Regions from separate parts of the Homo sapiens genome. Here all the other regions are linked to region 1. The links are contacts of gene promoters, found by promoter capture Hi-C in blood cells and fetal thymus (Javierre and others, 2016). All regions are on one chromosome and are shown on one strand. Each heading gives the region's core, a stretch centred on a gene start or on the middle of the fragment in contact. The rest is flanking DNA. Distances are from core to core; before and after follow the strand shown.

Evidence for each region. Contacts are between HindIII fragments. The CHiCAGO score rates a contact against its expected background, and 5 or more counts as called.
Region 2: a contact is called between a fragment that was not itself captured here and the fragment with the promoter of ZNF155 in region 1, in 12 of 17 cell types (non-activated CD4 T cells, total CD4 T cells, monocytes and 9 more). The highest score is 8.0, in non-activated CD4 T cells.
Region 3: a fragment that was not itself captured here is called in contact with the fragment with the promoter of ZNF155 in region 1 in 6 of 17 cell types (naive CD8 T cells, fetal thymus, total CD4 T cells and 3 more); the score reaches 7.2 in naive CD8 T cells.
Region 4: a contact is called between a fragment that was not itself captured here and the fragment with the promoter of ZNF155 in region 1, in 14 of 17 cell types (neutrophils, monocytes, M2 macrophages and 11 more). The highest score is 9.6, in neutrophils.
Region 5: a fragment that was not itself captured here is called in contact with the fragment with the promoter of ZNF155 in region 1 in 13 of 17 cell types (M2 macrophages, naive CD8 T cells, M1 macrophages and 10 more); the score reaches 10.5 in M2 macrophages.

The regions. Positions count from the first base shown.
Region 1 is chr19:43,982,703-43,986,071 of GRCh38, reverse strand. ZNF155 (zinc finger protein 155) reads right to left here and starts at 1,884. Exons shown (of 5, transcript NM_198089.3): 1 at 1,827-1,884. RefSeq lists a silencer at 1,988-2,187. The HindIII fragment of the contact is 8,717 bases long and covers 1-3,369 here.
Region 2 is chr19:44,185,609-44,188,977 of GRCh38, reverse strand. It overlaps a transcript of ZNF226 not described here. Among named protein-coding and RNA genes, the nearest start is that of ZNF226, 22 kb to the right of the region's middle. The HindIII fragment of the contact is 935 bases long and covers 1,269-2,203 here.
Region 3 is chr19:43,831,852-43,835,220 of GRCh38, reverse strand. ZNF283 (zinc finger protein 283) reads right to left here. Exons shown (of 7, transcript NM_181845.2): 4 at 1,595-1,716. The coding sequence starts at 1,716. Among named protein-coding and RNA genes, the nearest start is that of ZNF283, 6.2 kb to the right of the region's middle. The HindIII fragment of the contact is 7,984 bases long and covers 1-3,369 here.
Region 4 is chr19:44,117,098-44,120,466 of GRCh38, reverse strand. ZNF225 (zinc finger protein 225) reads right to left here. Exons shown (of 5, transcript NM_013362.4): 3 at 2,153-2,279; 4 at 1,893-1,985. Among named protein-coding and RNA genes, the nearest start is that of ZNF225, 5.4 kb to the right of the region's middle. The HindIII fragment of the contact is 2,373 bases long and covers 682-3,054 here.
Region 5 is chr19:43,849,154-43,852,522 of GRCh38, reverse strand. ZNF283 (zinc finger protein 283) reads right to left here. Exons shown (of 7, transcript NM_181845.2): 7 at 506-3,369. Among named protein-coding and RNA genes, the nearest start is that of ZNF283, 24 kb to the right of the region's middle. The HindIII fragment of the contact is 1,386 bases long and covers 1,191-2,576 here.

The DNA.
Region 1 (3,369 bases), core at 635-3,134:
CCTACAGAAGTCCAAGTCTATGAGCCTTGCTCTCAAGGTCCCTTCAATCAAGTCCTAACTCTCTTTCCCCACCTGATTCCAGCTAGTTCCTCTACCTCAATGAAAATGTATCCAAGGGATGATCAACTCAGGCTCTGACCCAAACTGCCTAGGTTCCAGCTCCAGCTGTACCTCATTCTACTGGGAACTAAGCACCAGGTGTCTCACTCCCATATTTAAAATGGAAAAGAGCGACCGGGCGCGGTGGCTCACGCCTGTAATCCCAGCATTTTCGGAGGCCAAGGCGGTCGGATCACGAGGTCAGGAGTTTCAGACCAGCCTGACCAAAACGGTGAAACCCCATCTTTACTAAAAATACAAAAATTAGCTGGGCGTGGTGGTGCGCACCTGTAATCCCAGCTACTTAGGAGGCTGAAGCAGGAGAATCGCCTGAACCTGGGAGGCGGCCTATTGCACTGAGCCCAGATCGCGCCACTGCACTCTAGCCTGGGCGACAGAGCGAGACTCCGTCTCAGGAAAAAAAAAAAAAAAAAAAAAAGAAAAAGAGCAATACCTTTCCACAGAGCCATGGTGTGGCGTAAATGTATTTATTTCCATAAAGCCCTTAGAATTAAGTTACCAATTAAGGTTTAATTATTATCAACACCCATGCCCAAGGACACATCCTATACACTCTTGGTTGAGGTGAACATCTCTGTAAAAGAAAAAACCGGCCCGGCGCGGTGGCTCACACCTGTAATTCCAGCACTTTGGGAGGCCGAGGCAGGCGGATCACTTAGGACCACAGGTTCGAGACCAGCCTGGCCAACATGGTGAAACCCCGTCTCTACTAAAAATACAAAAATTAGCCGGGCATGGTGACGCATGCCTGTAATCCCAGCTACTCCGGAGCTGAGGACAGAGAATCGCTTGAACCCAGGAGGCGGAGGTTGCAGTGAGCCAAGATCGCGCCACTGCTGCACTCCAGCCTGGGAGACAGAGCAAACCTCATTCTCAAATAATAACAATAATAAAAACAGACTAACAAAATAAATAACTTTTTTTTAAAAAGAGAAAAGCCAAAGACCACTCGTGTAGACAGCTTTGTCCTCAGTAGCCAAGTCCCTCCCTGCAGCTCTTTTAGAAAAGTCAGGCTGGGGAAGGAGAAAGCTGTCAAACACTCTGCGTCGCCGTCCCGGATACAAGTTAAATGCTCCTCTCCCTTCGTGAAACGTGGATGCAACCCACGCCTTCCTAAAAAGAGGTCAGAGGCGTCCGGGATCATCCAGAGCCCTGCCGGGCTCCAAGAGAAGGGCCGGAGCAGCTGGAGCTCTGACCCCACCCGGGCACCTGACCACTTCGCGGGAAATTAACAGGACACCAAGTGACAGGAGCTGTTAAGTCTTTGTTTTATACCACAACTTTCAACTCCTAAAACAATTCTATCAGGATGGTCCTGAAATCCTCATTTAAAAAACGGCAATGGGAGGTACAGGGAGATTAAGTAACACCCCACGTTATATCGCGAGAAAGAGGTCGCACACTTAAGAGTGGAGGGAGGCGGACTGAACGAGGTCAAACACCTGGAAAACCCTCTAAACAGGCACACAAGACTAGACAGAGTTCTTCCCCGCCCCCCCCGAACCCCCGACGACTCCTCCGGTGGACCTGAGTACAGCCCCCAACGCCAGAAGGCTCCATCGACGGCAACGAAACTTCCCTCCCACCCCTCGCATCTCCAAACCTCAGGTCTTCTCCAGGGCTTCTTACCCCCTTAGTTGACCCCCCAGGTCGTTAGGCGCCCCTAATAACTGGTTCACTTTCGCAAAGACCCGCAAGACACATACTTGGCTCAAACCACCTTGTTAAGTAGCAGTGTCCTGCTCGGAGACCGGAAGTGTCGATGATGCCACAGGCGTCTGGACTACACTTCCCAGAATCCCCCGAATCCGCCTGCCTGAGCCAAAGTTCCCACGACTCCACAGAGCAAATGGACTCCACTTCCCAGAATTCACAGGTCCTCCTGCCTGGGCCAAAATTCCCACGCCTCCCAAGCTACTCGCGAAACGCCTGCGGGAGCCAAATTTCCTGCGCATCGACCGGGCAATTAGACTCCCGCAGGCGTTTCGCTGGTATCTTGGGAAATGGAGTCCATTTGCTCTGTGGAGGCGTGAGAATTTTGGCTCAGGCAGGTGGACCTGTGAATTCTGGCCTATCAACCTATATTTTTATTTTAAAAAAATGGAGTCTCATGTTCTATATCAATTTTTCTAAACTAAAAAAGAATACTTTTCATGGTTTTCTTTAGATAAAGTGACTGTGCCAACCACAGTATGAGGAACACTTCTCTGAAAATTGAGTGACTGCTATTTCTAAACCAGTTACAGCTGTATCCTTGCTCTGTTCTGCCCTCCCAAGAGATAAAAATTTATTGACACGCTCAATCGTAGTAGGCAGGAAACTGTGCCTAATATATTAGGGTATATCTGGCATCAAAGGCCCTTTCTGTCCCCCAGGTCCTTGCACTCTGGGCCTGTGATGGGAGGAGAAGCTGCCATAATCTGTGAAATGCCTTTGGGGTCATTCTTCCATTGTCTTGGACAATAGGTCCTGGCTTCAGTTGACATGGCCAATCCATACTAAATTCATGAATTAGTTAGTTGCTTAACCATACCCTTGTATTCTTCAGGTTTCCTGTTTTTTTTTTTTTCCAAAGTAGATAGGCTGTAAACTTTTAAAAATTTTAGTTCTGTTTCCCTTTTAATTAATAATTATTTCAGTCATTCCTCACTTCGTGCCTTTCACTACGGGTAGTCAAGATGATTCAAGCAACTTCAACACTTTGATTAGAAATTAATTCAGATAAACAATTATATCATTCACAAATTCTACCTTCCATAAAACACTAGCACCTGAATATAATTCAGCCAAATTCTTTGTCCCTTTATAACAAGAAGCTCTCTTCTCTTCCAATAACATGTTCAACATTTCTGACTGAGGTCTTCAGAATGGCCTTTACTGTCCATATTTCTACCAACATTCTGATCATGACTACCTAGGTATGCTCTAACAAGATTGATGTTTTCTCTACAGTTCTTATTCTCTATTTCTGAGCGCTAACCAGAATTGTCCTTATCAGTCCATTCATGGCAATGTAGGCTTTTCCTAGCATACATGTAAAAACTCTTCTAGACTCTATCCATTACATAGTTCCAAAGACTGCTACATTTTTAGGTATTTGTTGCAGCAGCAAGCCCACCTCTCAGTACCAATATTTTTTAGTCACAAAATATCATAGCCTGCCTGGCTTTTATTTTATTTTATTTTATTTTATTTTATTTTATTTTATTTTATTTTATTTTATTTTTGAGACGGAGTCTTGCTCTGTCG
Region 2 (3,369 bases), core at 487-2,986, 200 kb before region 1:
CTTGGACTGATACCACCGTTGTTACTGAACCCTGTGGTCAAGAAAAATTGTTTCAAAACAACTTATGTGGCCCTTTTCATTTTTCCTTATAAAACTCTTGTCTTCATTTACCTCCCTGAATATACCCACTGTATTCCCATTGAAATGCTCATTCCTGAATAAATGTAATTTTATTTTAGAGAGACTCTGTCTCTTCTATTTAGATTGACATTTATATCAGACAAAATAGACTTAAGACAAAAACTGTCACAAGAGACAAAGAAGGATATCATATAATGATTAAAAGTTCAACTCACTAGGAAGATACAACAATGACAGTTGTTCCTCAGTATTCACAGGGGATTAGTTCCAGGACACTCTGTGGATACCAAAATCCATGGATACTCAAGTCCCTTACATAAAATGGCACAATATTTGCATATAACCTATGCACATCCTCTCATATACTTTAAATCATCTCTGGGCTATTTATAATTCCTAATATTATGTCAATACCATGCAAATAGTCATTATATTGTATTGTTTAGGGAATAATCACCCAAAAAAGTTGGTACATATTCAGTACAAATGCAACGGTTCATTCTTTTCAAATATTTTTGATCCAAGATTAGTTGAATCTGTGGATGCAGAACCTGCAGATACAGAGGGCTACGTAAATATATATGCACCTAACATTAGAGTGCCCAAATATATAAAACAAACATTGACAGAACTGAATGGGGAATAAACAGCAACACAATAATAGTAGGATACTTTAATATCCCACTTTCAATTATGGATAGAACTAGACAGAAGATCAATGAGGAAACGGAGGACTTGAACAACACTAAAGACCAACTGGATCTAACAGATACATACAGAACACTTCACCTAACGACAGTAAAATGCACATTCTTCTCAAGTGTGCATGAAACATTCTCCAAGATAGACCATGTTAGGCTATATTACAAGTCTTAATAAATTTAGGAAGACTGAAATTATACAAAGTATCTTCTCTAACTATACTGGAATAAAACTACAAATTAATAGTAGAAGGAAAACAAGAAATTCCACAAATATGTGGAAATTAAACAATGCATGCTTAAACAACCAATGGGCCAAAAAATAAATCATAAAGGAATTTAGAAAACATCAGGAGACAAATAAAAACAGAGATACAACATTTCAAAACTTATGAGATGCAGTGAAAGCAATCCAAATAGGGACATTTATATTGGTAAACACTTACCTTTAAAAACAAGAAATATCTCAAATCAACAACCTAAGCTTATACTTTAAGGAAATAGGAAAAGAAGAACAAGCAAACCAAAAGTCAGCGGAAGGAATAAAATAGTAAAGATTAGAGTAGAAAATAGAGAGAAGAAAATAACTTTTAAAAAGAAAATTAAGAGTCTGTTTTGAAAAGATTAACACAATTGACAAATTAATTAGTAAAAATAATTAAAATTAATTTCTTAGCTAGATTAAGAAAAAGAGAAGACTCAAATATTTAAAATTAGAAATGAAAGAGGAGACATTATGACTGATGTCACAGAAATAAAAAAAGTATAAGAGATTACTATGAAGAAGAATACACCAACAGATTGGATAACCTAGAAGAAATGGATAAACTAGGAATATGCAACCTATCAAGACTTAATCATGAAGAAATTTTAAGAAAACAACTGAACAGGTGTATAACTAGTGAGGCATTGGACGTAGTCATCAAAAGCCTCCTAAGAAAGAAAACTCTAGGACCTGATGGATTCACTGCAGAATTCTACCAAATATTTAAAGAAGAATTAACATACAAATTCTTCTTAAATTCTTCCAAAGAAGTGAAGAGGAAGGAACACTCTCAAACTCATTCTATAAGTCATCATTAACCTGATACCAAAAGCAAAGACACACAAGAAAATAAACTGTAGACCAATATCTCTGATAAATATTGATGCAAAAATCCTAAACAAAACACTAGCAAACTAAATTTAACAGCACACTAAAAGAATCACAGGTCATGATCAGGCAAGATTTATACCTGGTATAATTCAACATATAAAAATCAATCAATGTAATACACCACATAACAAAATAAAGGGCCTTTCATGATTAAAAAAAAAAAACCACTTAACTAGAAATGAAAGGAAAGTACCTAAATATAATGACAGCCATATATGAAAAGCCCACAGTTAATATCATATTCAATGGAGAAATACTGAAAGCTTTTACTCTAAGATCAGGAACAAGGCAAGGATGCCCAACTTACCACTACTATTTGACATAGTACTGGATATTCTAGCCAGGTCAATCAGAAAGTTTTTAAAAAGACATCCAAATTGGAAAGAAGAATTAAAATTTTCTCCATTTGCAGATGACTTGGTCTTATATGTAGAAAGATCCCACGTACACAAAAAAGCTACAACTAATAACTCAGCAAAGTTGCAAGATACAAAGTTAGCACTAAAAAATCAGTTGCATCTCTATATACTAGCAATCACCAACGTGAAAAGAAAATTTCATTTACTATAGCATCAAAAAGGGTAAAATACTGAGGAAAGAACTTAATCAAATAACTGAAATATTTTTACATTGAAAACTACAAAACATTGTTATTAATAAAAGAAGAAATCTAAGAAGATACAAATAAATGGGAACTCATCCTGTACTCAGGGGTTTGAAGACTTAATAATGTTAAAATTTCCATGCTACACAAAGTGATTTACAGATTCAATGCAATCACTATCAAAATCCCAATGACTTTTTTTCAGAAATAGGAAAAAAAAATTCTAAAATTTGTATGCAATCTCAGATGCCTCACACTCCCTAATTTCAAAACATACTTCAAAAGCAGCAGTAATTAACATGACGTGGTACTGGCATATAGACATATAACCAATATAACACAGAACCCAGAAATAAACCCCTGCATATATAACCAAATGATTTTGACAAGAGTGCCAAGATTACACAATGAGGAAAGGACAGTCTCTTCAAAAAATGGTAATGGGAAAACTGGATATCCATATGCAAAAGAATAAAGTTAGACCCTTACCTTACATTGTATACAAAAATTAAATAAAAATGGATTAAAGGCCTAAATGTAAGACCTAAAACTGTTAAAATCCTAGAAGAAAATATAAAGGAAAACCTTCAGAACATTAGATTTGGCAATTATTTCTTGGCTATCACAACAAAAGCACAGATAATGGAAAGAAAAATAGACAAATGGGATTATATCAAACTCAAAAACTTCTGTGCATCAAAAGAAACAATCAACAGAGTGAAAAGGTAGCCTGCAGAATGGAGGAAAATTGCAAGTTATATATCTGATAAAGGGTTAATATCCAGATTATATAAGAAACTTCTACAACTCTATAACAACAACAACAA
Region 3 (3,369 bases), core at 401-2,900, 150 kb after region 1:
ATGGTCCAAGCTAGAACGTCCTTCATGGGCTCAGGACTGAAGGAAGTTGGTCAAAACATGGGAGCTGGACAGGCTGTATAAGGAATTCATCAGGAACCCAAAAAGCTGACTTTCTAATGCATATATCAGAATATTCATGACGCAGAACATCATGCAATGAGTACATGCTAACTTAGGGAAATAATCAAGATATACTCAATAGAAAAAGGAGGTTATGAGACTTATGATTACATTTATAAAATACATATATATCAATACAGAAAGACTGACAATCACATCAATAGATGAAAAAATGTTTAGAAAGTTATACATCTCAAGAAAGAAACAGGCCAGGTGAGGTGGCTCAGGCCTATGATCCCAGCACTTTGGGAGGCTGAGGTGGGTGGATTATGAGGTCAGGAGATCGAGACCATCCTGGCTAACACGGTGAAACCCCGTCTCTACAAAAATACAAAAAATTAGCCAGGCGTGGTGGCAGGCGCCTGTAGTCCCAGCTACTCAGGAGGCTGAGGCAGGAGAATGGCGTGAACCCGGGAGGCAGAGCTGGCAGTGAGCCGAGATCGCGCTGCTGCACTCCAGCCTGGGTGACAGAGCAAGACTCCATCTCGAAAAAAATAAATAAATAAAATAAAAAATAAAAAATAAAATTATATATCTATATATATTAATAACATTTATCTTTTCATTATGATCATAATGTTTTCTGTTTAGGTAATCCACACAATCATTGTAACCATGGCCATACATTACATGAACTGTATAATTTCTACATATGCCTATGTCTTGCCTAGAAAAAAAAAGGATGAAATTCCCCAAGTTATGCCATGTATATATTAATGGAATAATACTAATGGAATAATATTAATGAAATGATATTAATATATTCATGGCCTAAGTTGAGGAATTTCATCCTTTTTTTTCATTTTTTGAGGGGAGGTTTTATTTATTTTTTTGTTCCCCTTCCATTAATGAGGTTTTGATTCTACTTTTCTTATCTTGACTGATGGATTTATTTTGTATCTGAACCTGTCTTAGACATGGTACTCTCCAGATAACTGAATCCAGATAACTGAATCACCTGATCCTATTAGGCTCACTTTGCAACCAACATTAGTAGAATAAAAACTATAAAGTATAAACCTTACAGAATAAATTCCATTTGCCTCCAAATGCTTGATCATGGTTCAACGGTATTGCTTATAACTGCCTTCCTATGAGTTCCTAAAGCAGGTCCCCTGGATTGCCTACTGGCCTTTGTTGCTGACTGCTGGCTGCCTTATGCTTACCCCAAGGCATATTTGGTCTCCAAGGTAACAACTATGTCTTCCAAACACTGTATTACCCGCTAAGTACAAGTATCACAGGGTCAGGCATTTGGGGCAAATTCTTTACCCAAAACTTCACTTCTAGAAATGTATCCTTAAGAAATAGGTAAAGAAGGGCCAGGCACGGCGGCTCATGCCTGTAATCCCAGCACTTTGAGAAGCCGAGGTGGGTGGATCACGAGGTCAGGAGATCGAGACCATCCTAACATGGTGAAACCCCGTCTCTACTAAAACTACAAAAAAAATTAGCTGGGTGTGGTGGCGGGCACCTGTAGTCCCAGCTACTCAGGAGGCTGAGGCAGGAGAATAGCGTGAACCCAGGAGGCGGAGCTTGCAGTGAGCCAAGATCGCACCACTGCACTCCAGCCTGGGCGACAGAGCGAGACTCCATCTGAAAAAAAAAAAAAAAAAGAAATAGGTAAAGAAGAAAGAAACACACAAGATGAATACACAAGGGTACTCAACCAAAAATAATTTCTGGTAACCAAAAATGAGAAACTACGTAATAGTAAGCAAAAGGTTTAATAAATTATGGCCCACCATATCCTCATTAGTTATGATGGTGTTGGTTCATATTAATTGATGAAGAAAGACATGCATGATCAATTCCTTAGGCAGGCCGGTTTGTAACTAACATAATGTGGGAGGCATATTCTATTGAAATTAAGATAAAAGTTCTGGTGTGAGAGCTTTAGGATGTGAATTTGAGCTTGATAGTTATCCATTTCTCAATACCTCTGTTTCCTCATCAGTAAGACGGGTGAGAACAGTGTCTACCATAGAAGAGTAAGTAAGAAATCCATACAAAATACTGAATGGTATATGATAATTGTTTATAAGTTGTCTTTTTTTTTTTTTTTTTTTTTCAGAGACAGGGTCTTGCTCTGTTGCCTAGGCTGGAGTGTAGTGACACAAACACAGCTCACTGCAGCCTCAACCTCCTGGGCTCAAGTGATCCTCCTACCTCAGCCTCCATCCCCAGTAGCTAGAACCACAGGTGCACGCCACCTTGCCCGACTAATGATTCTTCTTTAAAATTGTTTGTAAAGAAAGGGTCTCACTGTGTTGTCCAGGCTGGTCTCGAACTCCTGAGCTCAAGGAATCCTCCTGCCTTGACCTCCCAAAGTGCTGGGATTACAGGTGCAAGCCACCAGGCTTGGCCACATTTTCATCATTATTATTGAAAATGAAGAATGTTACTGTCCCTTATCCTGTTATGCCAAAGAAACTTAAGGCTACTCTATTTTGCTCACAGTAAAATGTGTCTTTCTCAGACCTGCTTTCTTATAACGTGAACTCAAATTTCACAGGTCAACCTTGAGTCTGCTATTCTTCCTAAATAACAATGTGAGCAAAACAGGTTCTCAGAAACATATAGAGGAAAATACCCCTTCCTCCCAGAAGTTACATAGAGATTCAGCATCATTAAGCTGCATCAGAAAATACAACCTGATTAGGTATAAAGCTGAGAACTTAACCAAAGGCTCAGTCTTCTGTACAAATTGGTGGTTTACTTAAACATTTACAACAAGAACCTTCTTATTCTACCTCCTGGTATTTACACCTGTCCTTGGAAATATTATCTGTAAAATGTATTTTTTGTAAGATGGCTGTATATTGGAGATTATTGCCATTGTCTGTAGAGGTAACCTTTAAAATAATCTAATTCTAAAACTCTTTTTTGCCTGGTAATTCATTTTTAAATGACATTTCTATAATCCCAGAAGTTGTAAATATTTGAAGGTTTTCAAATAAGGGAATCACTAGTACTTCCCTCTTCTCCCTAAATATTCAAGATTAACATAAAACCTAGAACTGGGTTGGATTTTTTTTTCAAACTAAGAACTAAAGAGTCTTCAATTCATTTACATCACCAATTACTATAATTTTATTCTGCAGAAAAAAAGAAAAAAAAAACAGACCCATAGGCTCAAAGGAAAAAGGATTTAAATAAAAATATTCCAAAGTGCTGGGTGTGGTGGCTCACGCCTGTAATTCCAGCACTTTGGAAGGCCAAAGGAGGCGGATTGCTTGAGCTCAGGAG
Region 4 (3,369 bases), core at 619-3,118, 130 kb before region 1:
CCTGGAGACACTGAAGTTCCCCTCATCCATTAATTTATTTATCAGGATAACAAATAATTAGATACCTGCCATGTACCAGAACAATACCTTCTAGCCTGTGAATAGACAGCCATGAGCAAAACAGCTAAAATTCATCCTCTTAGACATCACATTCCTGGGGGTAAAAGTGACAGGTAAACAGAAATATATAAGACACAGTGCAAGACAGCACAAGAAGAAAAAAATAGAACAGTGTTTTGTTTGTTTTTTTGAGACAGAGTCTTACTTTGTCACCAAGGCTGGAGTGCGGTGGCGCCATCTCGGCTCACTGCAACCTCCGCTTCCTGGGTTCAAGTGATTCTCCTGCCTCAGCCTCCCGAGTAACTGAGACTACAGGCACACACTACCACGCCTGGCAAATTTTGTATTTTTAGTAGAGATGGGATTTCACCATGTTGGCCAGGCTGGTCTCAAACTCCTGATCTCAGTGATCCACCCACCTTGGTCTCCGAAAGTAGTGGGATTACAGGCGTGAGCTACCGCGCCTGGCCTAGAATAGTATTTTAAATAGGGTGGTTGGAAATGGCCTCTCTAAAACTGAACAGAGACTTGAATATGCTTAAAGGAGAAGCCAGAAAGTTTTGAGGTGAAAGAGTATTCTGATCAGACAGAAAAGCAAGTAAGGGCTCTGAGGCAGAAGCTTCAGTAGTAGACAGAACAATGATTCATAAAAGATGTCCACATCCAGTACCCAAGACCTATGAACATGTTATATTACACAGCAAGGGGGACTGGGATTGCAGATGCAATTAAGGTCACTAATCAGCTAACAAGAAAGAGAGGTCATTGTGAATCATCCAGGGGTAACCAACACAATTACAAGGAACCTGAAAGGCAGGAGAGAGAGGCATAAGAAGAGTGGCAGAGTGAGCATGACTATGGAAGAAGGGTCAGAAATGCAAAGTAGCTGCCTTTGAAGATGGAGGAAGGGAAACAAGAGCCAAGGAATGCCTAGAGACTGGTAAACCAAAATAAAGGCTTCTCCTCAAGAGCATCCAGAAAGAAACAAACACCTACAGACAGCTTGATAATTGTCCGGTGAGACGTGTCAGACTTCAGGCCTAAAGAACAGAAAGATGATAAATTTTTGTTGTTTAGTCGACTAAATGTGTGGTCATTGGTTACTACAACAGGCAATACAGTGTCCTTGGCAGGTCAGAGAAACGGTAGGGAGGACAACGTGGCTGGAAGGACAAGGCAAAAGGGAGAGGACAGGAGATGTAGTCAGAGAGGTGGTGGGGGATGAAAAGCAGATCACATGGTCTCTAAAAGGCACTTAAAACACTTGTAACTTAAGTAAACATAAGAAGCCAGCCGGGCGCGGTGGCTCACGCCTGTAATCCCAGCACTTTGGGAGGCCAAGGCGGGCGGATCACGAGGTCAGGAGATCGAGACCATCCTGGCTAACACGGTGAAACCCCGTCTCTACTAAAAATACAAAAAATTAGCCGGGCGTGGTGGCGGGCATCTGTATTCCCAGCTACTCAGGAGGCTGAGGCAGGAGAATGGCGTGAACCCGGGAAGCGGAGCTTGCAGTGAGCCGAGATTGCACCACTGCACTCCAGCCTGGGCGACACAGCGAGACTCCATCTCAAAAAAAAAAAAAAGAAGCCAGAAAGGCTTTTGAGCCGAGGAATGGCAGTCTGACTTTCCTAAGGAATACATTGGCTGCCATGAGGAAAACAGATGTCAGGGTGGGAAAAGTGGGAGCAGGGAAACCAGCCGAAAGTCAGCTGTAATAATTCAGGAAAGAGGTCTGGCCATTTAGACCAGGACAACAGAGCTGGGCAATGGACAGAAGTGAAACCGATGGGAGAGTCACGCACAAGGACACAGAGTTGCTTGCTTCTTACCTAAATTCCCTTCTCTTTGGGTTGCTGTCTCCATCATCCAAAACTTTTCTTCCTTTAGGAAGTGGAAAGTATCTCTGTGGAGTGATTGATGCCCTGTGAACGTGAAAAGTCATGTGCTTAGTGCCAATATATCCTAGAAAAAAATCTAAGTAAAATTTACTGGAAACTTAGGTTCCCAATGCATACTCAAACTTGAACACTCTAGGATACAAAGCCACTCCTGGTCCTGATGTTCCCTTACAAAGGGTGCCTGTCCTCACCCACTGAGAGCAGGTTCCTGAAGTTCTCCAGCATCACTTCTCGGTACAGTTTCCTCTGGGCAAGGTCCAGCAGCCTCAGCTCTTCCTCAGTGAAGACCACAGCCACGTCCTTGAAGGTCACTGCCTCCTACAGCATCGAACATATGCAACCTCAGTCTCATGACCAATGACTACTGAGAGAGGGGTGGCACTGAGCAGACAGAGGGGAGGAATGAGAAGCTGTTTTGGATCTTGAGAGACATAGGTCAACACACAGACTTCCTTTTTTATTATTTTATTTTATTTATTTATTTATTTTGAGACAGTCTTGCTCTGTTGCCCGGGCTGGAGTGCAGTGGCATGATCTTGGCTCACTGCAACCTCCGATTCCCAGGTTCAAGTGATCCTCCCGCCTCAGCCTCCCAAGTAGCTGGGATTACAGGTGCCTGCCACCATGCCTGGCTAATTTTTGTATTTTTAATAGAGATGGGGTTTCACCACATTGGCCAGGCTGGTCTCAAACTCCTGACCTCAGGTGATCCGCCTGCCTCGGCCTCCCAAAGTGCTGGGATTACAGGCATGAGCCACTGCGCCCAGCCAGCTCATAGATTTGCTATTCATTCTGTCTGTATCCTGATAATGATGGATTTTCCTGAGCTCCACCAGAAGTGCAGTGATGGAAAAGACCTCCTGTAGGTTTACTTTGTGCACTTACTGAGTCTCCTTGTAAGTAACCCTGTAGGACTCTAAATGCAGCATCCTGGGCTGCACGTATATAGGTTTCAGTGAATCTTGCCAACTGCCCCAGTAACATTTAACAATTCAGTCCCAGTCTTGCCTGATAATTCCCATTGTTCTCTCTCATACTTGAACCCTGAATGTTATCATTTTTCTTTAATATCTGCCACCAAACTAACAAAGCTTGTGGTAACCTGTGTGGGACAGCTATACAGTACATCCTGTGTACTCTCAAGGCATAAACTACATACATTGATTGCAGCATTGATCTATGATCTGCAGACAGTGTGCCTAAAAGCACATCCCAAGGCTCTGTGCCTTCCTGGTCACATGACCTTGGACAAGTTCACCTATTTACTCCCTCTCTAATAATTTTCATATTATAGTTTTTTCAATGATTAAACAAGGAAATACATGCAGCATTGGGAAAGTTGATCAGTGCAGACTAAATACCTAATAAACACTAGCTTTTTAAAATTTTTTTTATTATTATTGTCATT
Region 5 (3,369 bases), core at 634-3,133, 130 kb after region 1:
ACAGCCCTATAAGGAAGTTCTGACTTCCCAACACATTATTCTTAAGAGCACATAATGAAGGATTTTAGGGGCCATGCTGGGATGCGTCTTTTATGCGGATCTTGGCTAGTACTACATGGCTATGAAGGCTCCTTAAAGGAACTGTGCTAACACTCAATAAATCTGTTATGTCTGAAGTAGGAATTAAAAGACAAAAAAAAATGCAACAGATGGAACTAGAAAAGTGGTCAAGGATCAAACAAAATAACCTAATAGGATCATACAATATTAAAAAACAGGCTATTGCAATACCAAAACAAACAAAAATACAATAAAAAAGAAAACTATTATATAATCTCACTCATGAGATGCAAAAATACTAAATAAAATGGCAAAATGAAATCAAGCAATGCATCAGAAGGATACTATGACTAACCTGGAATATCCAGGAATGGGAAAAAGTCAGTGAATCTATCAGAATAAATTATCACATGAACAAATTAAATACTATAGAAGTGCAGAAAAAGATAGTGAAACGGCATTTAATAAAACTCAGGAGGCACCACTACTTAGCTACAACAAAGATTTTCACTCATAACTGAGACCATGATGCTGCCATTCCATCATAGCTAACAACCAGACATGGTGACTGAAATTCTCTTTTGGTTATAGCAGCAGTTCCCAATGCAATTTCACCCACCTACAAAGATAATAGGTCATGGGAATAAGTATTTCAACAGTGAAGTTTGCCATACACCAGTTTAAACAAAGTTCAACCATTTTCTTCACTAGAATACTCCTTAGTCTTTTTTTATTTTTATTTTTTTGAGACGGAGTCTCGCTCTGTCGCCCAGGCTGGAGTGCAGTGGCGCAATCTCGGCTCACTGCAAGCTCTGCCTCCCGGGTTCACGCCATTCTCCTGCCTCAGCCTCCCCGAGTAGCTGGGACCACAGGCGCCCGCCACCACGCCCGGCTAATTTTTTCTATTTTTAGTAGAGACGGGGTTTCACCGTGTTAGCCAGGATGGTCTTGATCTCCTGACCTCGTGATCCGCCCGCCTCGGCTTCCCAAAGTTCTGGGATTACAGGCATGAGCCACCGCGCCCGGCCGTCTTTTTTTTTTTTTCACTTCTCTTTAGTCTTTTGATAAGCTGGTGAGGTGCTTTTGCTTGTTCCTTAGGAGGGGATTTAGTAGATGCTACTTTATAAGCTTCTTTAACTGTAAAATCCTCCTTCATTGTCAAGTACTAGTAAGCACTGGTGATTCCTTGAGATATAATTTCAGAAATGTTGGGATAAGGCACCATGTCTACATTTCTTGGTTAACAGGCAAATGTGGCACCCAGAGGGAGTGGCATAATAGCCAGTTACCAATAATATATCCTGTTAAAACTCCCAAAGTACTCTGCTTTGTGTTACAGTTGATTATTAAGAGTGCAACTGTTGGCTTTTTATGCCTTTGAAAAAGTGCAATCATGTAGAATGATGATCACTAGATGGTGAATGACTGACTGAACAGTGATATTACGAATCCCCTATGTGCACAAAATAGAGAGGTCAGGTGTAGACCTATGACAAGGAACCACAGACATTTAGTTATCAATGCATTAGTTCTGATGGAACTGACATTATTTTCAAAAAGAAATAATTTTTAAAAGGGTCGATTTCTAACTGTGTGAGTATATAAACACACACTCTATTTCTTCATAACTAACCTGCCTTGATGCTAGCACTAAATCATGACAGGCACCTGGTTGAAAGTGGTTGCAAGAAGCCATCAATTTTAAGATGCATTGTGATTTCCAAATAGTAAAATATAGCCAGGCGCAGTGTCTCACACCTGTAATCCCAACACTTTGGGAGGCTGAGGCAGGTGCAGGAGTTCAAGATCAGCCTGGACCAACATGGCAAAACCCCATCTCTACTAAAAATACAAGAATTAGCCAGTATGGTGGTGCACACCTGTGTATCCAGCTACTTGGGAGGCTGAGGCACGAGAATCACTTGAACCCGAGAGGTGCAGGTTGCAGTGAGCCGAAATCACACCACTGCACTCCAGCCTTGGTGACAGAAAGAGAGATCCTGTCCCAAAAAAAAAAAAAAGTAAAATACATACCATATGATCACACATTTCCAAAGATCATTGATCAAGGCTGACCAATCCTATTAGGTATATAATGGATCTTTATAACAGACAACTCCAGTAGTTACCATAAGTGATCAAACTTGGCACTGGTGATACTGGGGGAAATGGATACTATCTGCTTCTGAGGTATTGCAAGATGAAGTACACATCACCATCTATGAAGTGTTCTGGTAAAAAATGTTTAAGCCTCTATTTCCAACTTCATGTTACGAGAAATGTGAAGGAGAGGCCCATATCAAATTTCACCATGAGGAATGAAACTAATGTGTGACATTCTATAAAACAGCTTTCCTAAACTCTTCAAAAGTCTGGATTTTTTCAAGTCTCATTTTTTTAGCTCAGCTTAAGGGATAAACTCTGAATTAAAATCCCCTCAAATTCTTTATACTGTACTAGATCTTATCCAGAATGAACTATCTGAAATTCAAATGGATGAGTGGTTATGGGAAGCTTTTCTGAATTCATTCCTCAAAACGGTTGTGCCTCTCCTAAGAATTCACCAGTAGTAATACTAATAATAAAGACAATATGAACAATAGCTAATATGTATTAAGCATAGGCTACATACCAGATACTCTTCCAAGGATATGATGCATACTAAATCCATCTAATCTCTGTAACAGCATTATTAGTTACCATCAGCATTTGAAACATCATGTCCAGAAGAGATAAGCATTTTGCTCACCATCCTACAGGTAGTATGGAGGTGAAATGGTGATGACAGTATGGTATTTGCCATGGATAAGGGTTTTCCTACATTTGTTACATTAACAGAGTTACTCTCTAGGATGAACTTACTGAAGTTTAACAAAGACTGAATAGTGTTGGAAGGCTTCTGCACATTTAACATATCTGGTATAAATTATCTTATGCTGTTACAGGCATTAGAAAATTTTGATTCCCTCATTTGCCAAATCTTGCTATAGTATGAATATTCTGCTATTCTAATCAGAGAGGTGCAAGTGAAGAATTTCTTATTTAAATTGTCACTTGTCTCATGTCTTGAAAAGTGTGAGTCTTGTCTCAAATTATTTCTGGGAAAGAACAAACTTTGTTTTCAATTCTCAATCATTTATGGACTGATAATTTTGTAAAACAGAATGTTATGGAAATGTCAAATTGCTATAAAAGTTCCAAATATTTACTCACTTTCCACGTTTATCTCACAATTGACAGATGACAATTTTATGACTGCACCAGTCTCTGGATAATAATTTGGGTAGCATTTGTCTAAAGGCCTTCCTA